Regions from separate parts of the Homo sapiens genome. Here all the other regions are linked to region 3. Evidence: promoter capture Hi-C in 16 types of primary human blood cells and fetal thymus (Javierre and others, 2016). All regions are on one chromosome and are shown on one strand. The core of a region is centred on a gene start or on the middle of the fragment in contact, and the rest is flanking DNA. Distances in the headings are between cores, read along the strand shown.

Region 1 (3,169 bases), core at 9-2,508, 150 kb before region 3:
CAGTTGATTTACTTTATTTTATTTTTTGTAGAGATGGGGTCTCCCTATGTTGCCCAGGCTCATCTCAAACTCCTGGGCTCAAGCAAATCTCCCACCTCAGGCTCCCAAAGAGGAGGGATTACAGGCATGAGCCTCTGTGCCTGGCCTATTTATTTATTTTAGAGTCAAGTCTTGCTCTGTCACCCAGGAGGTAGTGCAGTGGCACAAACATAGCTCACTGCAGCCTTGAACTCCTGGGCTCAAACGATCCTTCTTTTAGCCCCTCGAGTAGCAGGGGGACTACGGACACAGGCCACCATGCCTAGCTTAGGTTTTCTGTTTGTTTTTTTTAGGGACAAGTTCTTGCTGTGTTGCCCAGGCTGGTCTCCAATTCCTGGCCTCTGGCCTCCTGAGTCACTGAGACTACAGGTGGCAGCCACCACCCCTGGCTGAACTCACTTAACATTAGTAACATCCCCTTCAGATAGGCACCATTATTATCCAGATTTTGCAGATGAGAAAACTGAGACACAAAAAAATAAATAAGGTGCCCAAGGCCACAGAACCAGTAAGTGACAGAGCTGGGATTCAAACCTAGGCAGCCTGTGCCTAGAGTCTCTGTCTCTTTCGTGTCTCATTGTGGATAAACAAAGCGCCAACTGGATTTTCTTATCTTAGTCTTTGACTTTTTTTTTTTTTTTTTGAGATGGAGTCTCACTCTGTCTCCTAGGCTGGAGTGCAAAGGCGCGATCTCAGCTCACTGCAACCTCTGCCTCCCGAGTACAAGCAGTTCTCCTGCCTCAGCCTCCTGAGTAGCTGGGATTACAGGCACCCGCCACCATGCCTGGCTAATTTTTGTATTTTTAGTAGAGACGGGGTTTCGCCATGTTGGTTAGGGTGGTCTAGAACTCTTGACTTCAGGTGATCCTCCCACCTCAGCCTCCCAAAGTGTTGGGATTACGGGCATGAGCCACTGCGCCTGGCCTTTTTTTTTTTTTTATGAGTTGGGGTCTCATTCTGTCACCCAGGCTGGATTGTAGTGGCACAATCATAGCTCACTGTAGCCTCAAACTCCTGGACTCAAGTGATCCTCCCACCTCAGCCTCCTCAGTAGCTAGGACTACAGGCGCAAGCCACCATGCCTAGCTAATTGTTTTTTAATTTTTTTAGAGCCAGGGTCTTACTATGTAGGCCACACTGATCTCAAACTCCTGGTCTTTGATTCTTGAGAGTAAAACTAGAAGTATCATCATGGGAAAATATTGTTCTCAGAGGCTCCAGTTAGCTCTGACATTCTAGGGATCGATGCCAACTAGTATTTCAGATTTTAGTGGAGGAAAGAGGAAGGGGAGTTTAATCAAGGAATTGATAACTCTGATAGTTCACTTACTCTATGCAAGACCTGTAAGGTCCTGGGGATGGAGAGAATAGGAGGGTGCCCAGGGCTCCTCCTCACCCATGGACTCAAGAACCTGTATTCCCACCCCCTTCTCCAGGCATTACTCTGAGAATAATGGTAGCTGGCTGAGGCAGGGGCCAGAGTTCAGGTGGAAAGCTGGGGTGGCCCAGGGGAATTAGCCTTGGGCTCTTCTTTATCTCTATTGGGGTATAGTTGTTCTATTGGTTCTATTGCCTCATAAAACTTCACTGTGATATGGAGGCAGTTTGAGTTCATTCACCCCTCCGGGGAGGTTCTCAATGAGGGTCTGAACAAATAGGTAAACCCAGGAGAAGAGGGGAAGAGGCGGGCATGGGTGGATGGAAGGTGGAGGGTCAGATGTACACTTAGACTCTAGGGAAGGGGTGGGAGCATGGCTGAGTCAGTCAGCTGAGTGCCAATGTCATCCTTTCCCATAGCCCCACCACTCCCATCCTGCCTTGGACACTGACCTTGGAAGAGTAGCAACTAAGGAAAAAAACAGCTCTGACCGTGCAGAAGGAAATCAATGGGAAAGGGAGTTAAGCGGGGGCCTGGAGAAGCCACTTGGTCCTTCTTGCCCACATCCCCTGGCCTAGAGCTTCTCAAGGCTGCTGAGCAGTACAATCACTGGGGAGTTTGTCAAAATGCAGATTCTAGGGCCCCACCCCAGACCTACCAAACCAGAATTTTGGGGGGTCAGGTCACAGGGATTTCTATTTTTCACAAGCCCTCCCTTCCTACATCCCCAGTAGCGTATGAACACAGCCTTACAGCCTATTCCACATAGATCTGAACAAATAAAGTGAAATCAACACTATCCCAGTACCCACCAGGAATACATACAGAAGGAAAAATGAAATGCAGCTTGAGGCCTGGAAGGGATCACAATGTAGTTGGGAGATAAAAGACTCACTTTGTGAAGGGTTAAATTAATGCTGCAATATATAAACAGTAGTTCAAAATAGGCAGCTAGGCTGGACGAATTGCCAGTGAGTGAGAATAACAGTAGATATCCTTCAACAATCACCTGTGAAATGCTAGATCCTGTACTAAGCACTTTTGCTATGTACTTTCATTTAATCTCATTAAAACTCTGGAAGATCGGTATTTTTTTCCCCATATAATAATGAATGAGGCCAGGTGATGGCTCACACCTGTAATCCCAGGACTTTGGGAGGCCAAGGCAGAAGGATCGCTTGAGTCCAGGAGTTTGTGACAAGCCTGGGTAACAAGTGAGGCCTCGTCTCTACTAAAAGTTAAAAAATTAGCCGTGCGTGGTGGAGCATGCCTGAGGTCCCTGCCACTTGGGAGGCTGAGGCAGGAAGATCTCTTGAGCCTGTGAGGCTGAGGCTGATTGTGCCACTGCACTCCACCCTGGGTGACAGAGTGAGACCCTGCCTAATAATAATAATAATTATTATTAATAATAAATAAGGCTTTGCCTTATTTGTTAATTCTTCTCATATTAGCCTTCCCTCATACTCAGGAAGTGGTCGGGTAATGTTTCTGTGTTCCAAAAATATCCTTATGTTACAGTCTTTATTTCTTTGATCACATCATGTTGTAACTGCCTGTTTATGGGACTGTGTCTCCTACAAGATTTGAGGACAGACCGGGCGCCGTGGCTCACGCCTGTAATCCCAGCAGTTTGGGAGGCTGAGGTGGGTGGATCATTTGAGATCAGGAGTTCAAGACCAGCCTGGCCAACATGGTGAAACCCCGTCTCTACTAAAAATACAAAAATTAGCCGGGCGTGGTCTATGGGGGCCT
Region 2 (3,269 bases), core at 114-2,613, 230 kb before region 3:
GCTCAAGGCCCCGGGAGACCAGGGTCTGCGGTGGAGTTACCACTCCACTTCCTCCTCTTTCCCACAGGACAGAGGATTTAGGACTGAGCTTACCATGTCTGAGTTAAAATGTATGTATTTATTTATTCTGAAACAAGGTTTTGCTTTGTTGCCTAGGCTAATTTTTTAATTTTTTTCTGTAGAGATGGGGTCTTACAGCCGGGCACGGTGGCTCACGCCTATGATCCCAGCACTTTGGGAGGCCGAGGTGGGTGGATCATTTGAGGTCAGGACTTGGAGACCAGCCTGACCAACATGGTGAAACCCTATCTCTACTAAAAATAGAAAAATTTAGCCAGTCGTGGTGGCGCATGCCTGTAGTCCCAGCTACTCAGGAGGCTGAGGCAGGAGAATCCCTTGAACCTGGGAGGCAGAGGTTGCAGTGAGCCGAGATTGCGCCACTGCACTCCAGCCTGGGCAACAGAGTGAGACTGTCTCAAAAACAAACAAACGAAGAGATGGGGTCTCAGTATGTTGCTCAGGCTGCTCTCAAATTCTTGGGTTCAAGCAATCCTTCTGCCTCAGTCTCCCAAAGTGTTGGGATTACAGGCATGAGCCATTACACACGACCTCAGTTGATTTCTGACTTGTCCACCTCCTGGCTCACTTTCAGAAGCTCAGCCCTCAGAGAAATCATGCCAGATTTCTTTTTTTTGAAACAGTGTCTCACTCTATTGCCCAGGCTGGAATGCAGCAGCATGATCATAGCTTCCCTAATTCCCCATCTTCCAAATCTGCAACTTCAGGATTTGAATTTGGAGGTGGAGAAGATTAGTACTGAGCATGTTTCCTCTTAGGCATTAGAAGTCAGGCATGGGCTGGGCGCAGTGGCTCACACCTGTAATCCCAGCACTTTGGGAGGCCAAGGCGGGTGGATCACTTGAGGTCAGGAGTTCGAGACCAGCCTGGCCAACATGGAAACCCCATCTCTACTAAAAATACAATAATTAGCAGGGCGTGGTGGCAGATGCCTGTAATCCCAGCTACTCAGAAGGCTGAGGCAGGAGAATCGCTTGAACCTGGGAGGCGGAGGTTGCAGTGAGCCAAGATTGCGCCATTGCACTCTAGCCTGGGCAACAGAGTGACTCTGTAACAAAAAAATAAAAAAAGAAAGAAAAGAGAAGTGACTTGCCCAAGGTAATACAGCCAGTAATGGCTGAGCCAAGGCTGCAAACCTGATTTGTCAGACTCCATAGCTTAGAACTGTGATCTAGTTTCTTCAGGGTCATGTCATAACTAGTAAGTGATGGAGCCAAATTCCAACTGAAACAAAAAGGAGAGACCATGCTCTCCCCCAGGAAATGCTAGAGATTATAAATGACAAAAATAGGCCGGGCGCAGTGACTCACACCTGTAATCCCAGCACTTTGGGAGGCTGAGGTGGGTGGATCACCTGAGATCAGGAGTTCGAGACCAGCCTGGCCAACATGGTGAAACCTCGTCTCTACTAAGAACACGAACAGATGTGGTGGTGGGCACCTGTAATACCAGCTACTCGGGGAGGCTGAGGCAGGAGCATTGCTTGAACCTGGGAGGCAGAGGTTACAGTGAGCCAAGATCATGCCATTGTATTCCAGCCTGGGCAACAACAGTGAAATTCCATCTCAGTAGTTCAAAGGAAACTTCCTGAGAAGAGAATTTAATTTGAAAATATCTCCGTTCTACCTGGCATGTGATATAAGAAACATTTGGCAGTCTGCCGTGGGTCAGGATTTCTTTTTTTTTTTAATTATTTTTTTAAATTATACTTTAAGTTTTAGGGTACATGTGCACAATGTGCAGGTTTGTTACATATGTATACATGTGCCATGTTGGTGTGCTGCACCCATTAACTCGTCATTTAACATTAGGTATATCTCCTAATGCTATCCCTCCCCGCTCCCCCCACCCCACAACAGGCCCCGGTGTGTGATATTCCCCTTCCTGTGTCCATGTGTTCTCATTGTTCAATTCCCACCTATGAGTGAGAACATGCGGTGTTTGGTTTTTTGTCCTTGTGATAGTTTGCTGAGAATGATGGTTTCCAGCTTCATCCATGTCCCTACAAAGGACATGAACTCATCATTTTTTATGGATACATAGTATTCTATGATTTCTATAATAAATCATTCCCATTGCCAATCTTACCAAAAGAATATTCTATTGTTATACAAAAAAGCTAACAAAAATAACTACCATGTTCGGGATGTTTACTACATGGCAAGGACTACATTAATAAGCATTTCTTGTATATTAATATCATTCCATCTTCATGATAGCCCTATGGGTAGATATTATTATTTTCATTCTATACGTTAAGAAATTGAGTCTCAGGCCGAGCACAGTGGCTCACGCCTGTAATCCCAGCACTTTGGGAGGCCGAGGCGGGTGGATCACGAGGTCAAGAGATCGAGACCAGCCTGGACAACATGGTGAAACTCTGTCTCTGCTAAAAATACAGAAAATTAGCTGGGTATAGTGGCAGGCACCTGTCATCCCAGATACTGGGGAGGCTGAGGCAGGAGAGTCATTTGAACCTGGGAGGTGGAGGTTGCAGTGAGCCAAGATCGCACCACTGCACTCCAGCCCCGGTGACAGAGTGAGACTCTGTTTCAAAAAAAAGAAAGAAATTGAGTCTCAAAGAGGTTAAATAACTTGCTCAAGGTCACCCAGATGGAGGGTGGTAGAGCCAGAGTTCAAAATGACAATGCTATTGTTTTCATCCCTGGCTAAGCATGAGAAAAATGAAGATTACCAGGCCCTACTTAAAGCCACCAACTTGAGATTTCCCAGGGATGTGGCCCTGGGATGTATTGAAAAGTCTCCACAGGTGACCTGAAGCCCACCAAAAATTGAAGACCTAGCCCCCGTTAGGCCTTAACCCAAAACTCACCCTTATAACTGCTCACCTGCCTGGACCCAGTACTAATCATATTAGTCGCTGTTAGAGAAGAATGTCTGTTTGGTAAAACCACTGATGGCCTTTGTGAAGGCTTTGGTTTAGTGATTAGCTTTCAAGATGCAAACTTTGTCCTTGGAATAGTGGAAAACAGCACGTAGGCTTAGAAATTCTTTTTTTTTTTTTTTGAGATGGAGTTTCACTCTTGTCACCCAGGCTGGAGTGCAATGGTGAGATCGCAGCTCACTGCAACTTCTGCCTCTTGGGTTCCCTGGCCTCAGCTTCCCAAGTAGCTGGGATTACAGGCGCCCACTACCACACCTGGCTAATTTTTTTATTTTTAGTAGAGATG
Region 3 (3,330 bases), core at 807-3,306:
GGAATATAACTAACAGAAGTTTGATTTATGCAAGAGTTCATCTCACAGAGGTAAATTAAGGTTGGCAGGCCTTTGACCAGGAAGAAGGAGTGGGTGAAGCTGTGGGTGTGGAGAGAGACTCTGTTACCCCACAGTGAACATTTAGGAGTAGGAAGCATCAGTGATTGAGACAGCAGGAGAGACTGTCTGATCAGCAGGGTCAGCATAAGAGAAGGAATAGCGAGACAGGGGGGAGGAATAGGGAGATTTGCAGAGGAAAAAAGTGACACCTTGGAGAACTTGCTGAACATTCAATGGAGACAGAGTGGCTTCAAACGTGACTCCAGCCTTGTGAAAAATAATCTCAGTTCATCCATACAATGACACACTATGCCCATTAGAAGAACAAAGTAAGCCTGTATATGCAGATATGAAAACATGGCGAAGACACACTGTTAAGTGAAAAAAGCAAGTTGTACCATGGAATGTAAAGTATGCTTCTCTTTGAGTTTAAAAAAAAAAAAAACAGCACAAATACAGAGTATATATATGTACAGAAGGGTTGGGGAAATACTTTCCGAAAAGACACAATCTTGTTAAGGGGTTACCTTTCAGAATTGGGAGGGGGTGTGTGGGCTTTTACTTTTCTCTTTCTACCTTTTTGAACTGTTCGAATTTCTTGTGATGAGCGTCGTTACTTTTATAACATTTAAAACAAAAGGTAAACCTAAGGTTTAAGGATTGGAAGACTGGTAAGTGTGGTATCCCTGCTAGGAGATGGGGAGAAGTCAGACATTTGGGAGGAAACAAATTCTGCAGTGAATCTGATGTGTTACAATGAAGGGCTGTAGTGATGCTTGGAAATGTGTGGAGAGTTTGAGGATCGGGCAGTTGAAAGCAGGAGTAATTGATATAATTACTCCAGATGACAGAATAAATTAGAGAATGGTGCAGAGGGAGGGCAAAAATAAGGATGTGAGAGGACAGATTTTTAACAGTGCTAACTGAGCACCAGCCTTGGATTGACCTATGTAAGACATTGTCTTTCTATTACTGCTACTTCAGCATGGTGGAAACACAGGGTCTCTGAGAGATGGCCAGTCTAAGGAAGGGACCTCTGCAGGCTTCCAAGCAGGGCAATTTTGTGGTCAAGGAGCAGAGGAGGATCACAATGAGGTAATGCAAGGGACTCATGGTGTCAGAGGAGAGACCTGGGCTGGGAGACTATTAGGGCCCACTGCAATTATTTAGCTGAAAAGCGAGGTCCTAGAATGGGGCAGCAGCAGTGGGGATGGAGAAATAAGGACAAAGCATATTAAGACAAGTAGTTTAGGTGGGGAAGGAGAGTGAAGAGAGTCATGAGGCATTGAGTACAAATCTCTGCCTGCCGTTCAATACCTTTTGAGCTCAGTTTGCCAGTCTGTATCATATATTTAAATAAATGTGAAGGTTAAGTGAAATAATGCATTCAGTAAATGTTAACTGTGATTGTTAGCTCGGGTATTGGACTCAGATTTACCAGACTTCAAGTCCCTTTTTTATCAATTACTAGCTGTGCAACCCTGTCCAAGTCATTAATGTCTCTGAGCCCAGTTCCTCTTTTGTAGACGGGGATAATCTGTTGTCATGAAAATGAAAGAGCACAAGTAAAGTGCTAGCAGGACTTGGCACAAAGTAGGCGCTCAATAAATGGCAGAGCTACGGGTGTTACTATTGTAACGGGTAAACCACTGGGCACAGAGCCTGGCACACAGTAAGGACTCAAAACATGTTAATTTGTATTATAATACGAAGGTAGAAGTCGAGAGGCAGGAATGCAGGAGCTGCCCAGCCCGCAATAAAGGCGCGCTGGCAGCTCTCCCACCTTCCGCATCCCGCCCCGCCCGCAGCAGTGCGAGTCCTCCTCCTCCTCCTCCCCGCGCGCACTTGCCGCCCCCGCCCGACCGCGGTGCGGGACACTCACCCTCGCGGCTGCCCGCCACGTCCAGGGGCGTCCGGAGCAAAGAAGCTCTCGGCGGGGCTCCGCGTCCCGGCTTTCCTCAGCGGCAGCAGCCGGGCAGAGCGTCGGCCCCAGGCATAGTTTTCCCATCCCGTCATGGGCGGGAGAGCCTTCCTCCCGGTCACGTGGGCTGGCCCGCAGCGCAGCATTCTCTTTTTAGCAGCTGTTTGGAAAAAACTTGCAGTGCTGATGACAACTCGGGTGTGTCGATGCATCTCTGCGTTTGTAGAGCTTGTTAGCGTATTTGGAGGTTTTGTGCGCCAGAGTGATCAGAGTGATTGTTTCCCACGCGTTTGCAAAGGTGTGCATGTACTTGAGTGTGATGATAAATCATAGGGATGTGTTTAGTTGTGTGTGTGCGTACGTGCGTTTATCCAAATTTTCATCAGGGCTGTTCGGTGTATGTACACATGCATGCACATGTCCAAGATGGCAGCTTGGTGTAAAACTGGAGGGCACATCAGTGGTTGGATGTACACGATAGTGGCTAGACATCTGTATGTGGGGTGCATGTTTAAATGTGTGTGTGACTGTGCAGGGGCTCATTCTGTGTGTTGGTTTGACATCTGTATGTGGGGTGTATGTTTAAATGTGTGTATGACTGTGCAGTGGCTCATTCTATGTGTTGATTTCTATGCATGCCTTGGTGTGGATTTTGTCCGGATGTGAGTGTGCACATACACACTAGTGTGGGTGAGTTCCCCTGTGTACCAGCTCTCATTTCTCTTCTCCCCAGAAGGTGAGGATTCACTGGTCTCACTCACTCTGGCCCAGCCTCAAGTCATTGAGAGACTTATGGAGGGTCTCAGCTCCCAGGATAGGCAAAGCAATCCTATTTGGGAATCAAGCAGGCACTGGAGGAAAGGAAATCCTCCAAGGCCTGGCTTTTGCTTCTCCCTGTTCCTTCCACTGCTCTCTTCCACTAGCTACCCATATTTCACTCTGCACAGCCAGAGCATCTGGTTAACAGCTGGTAAGTGACACAAAATTTACAGTCAGAATTTTAATACAGATATGCATTTGAATTCTAATGTTGTATCCACCACCTTAATCAAGTCAGATAATCTCACAGATGGTGTTTTATTTTCTAAAAAAAATGGGAGAATAATATTACCTGCACTGCCTTTACCCCAAAGTTGGGACACTAACTCATAAAGATGTTTGGTAAGCCATTGAACTATGTAGGGAATTATTACTAATATCACATAAATACTATTTGAGAAAGAAAGTTTGTAGGCTTAACAAACATTCATTCAACAAATATTTAATAAGCATCCATTGTGTGTCAGTCCCCAAGCAAGGTGCTGGGGACATAGAGGGAAACAAATAGGCTTGATGCCTACCCTCATGAA

What was found. The method cuts DNA at HindIII sites, captures the fragments that hold promoters and counts their contacts. A CHiCAGO score of 5 or more calls a contact.
Region 1: a fragment that was not itself captured here is called in contact with the fragment with the promoter of C1QTNF2 in region 3 in 2 of 17 cell types (neutrophils and M1 macrophages); the score reaches 13.2 in neutrophils.
Region 2: a fragment that was not itself captured here is called in contact with the fragment with the promoter of C1QTNF2 in region 3 in 1 of 17 cell types (neutrophils); the score reaches 6.1 in neutrophils.

What each region holds. Positions count from the first base shown.
Region 1 is chr5:160,217,797-160,220,965 of GRCh38, forward strand. It overlaps a transcript of FABP6 not described here. Among named protein-coding and RNA genes, the nearest start is that of FABP6-AS1, 9.3 kb to the left of the region's middle. The HindIII fragment of the contact is 5,834 bases long and covers 1-3,169 here.
Region 2 is chr5:160,139,293-160,142,561 of GRCh38, forward strand. No RefSeq gene overlaps it. Among named protein-coding and RNA genes, the nearest start is that of PWWP2A, 21 kb to the left of the region's middle. The HindIII fragment of the contact is 6,590 bases long and covers 1-3,269 here.
Region 3 is chr5:160,368,570-160,371,899 of GRCh38, forward strand. C1QTNF2 (C1q and TNF related 2) reads right to left here and starts at 2,057. Exons shown (of 3, transcript NM_031908.6): 1 at 1,943-2,057. The HindIII fragment of the contact is 8,188 bases long and covers 1-3,330 here.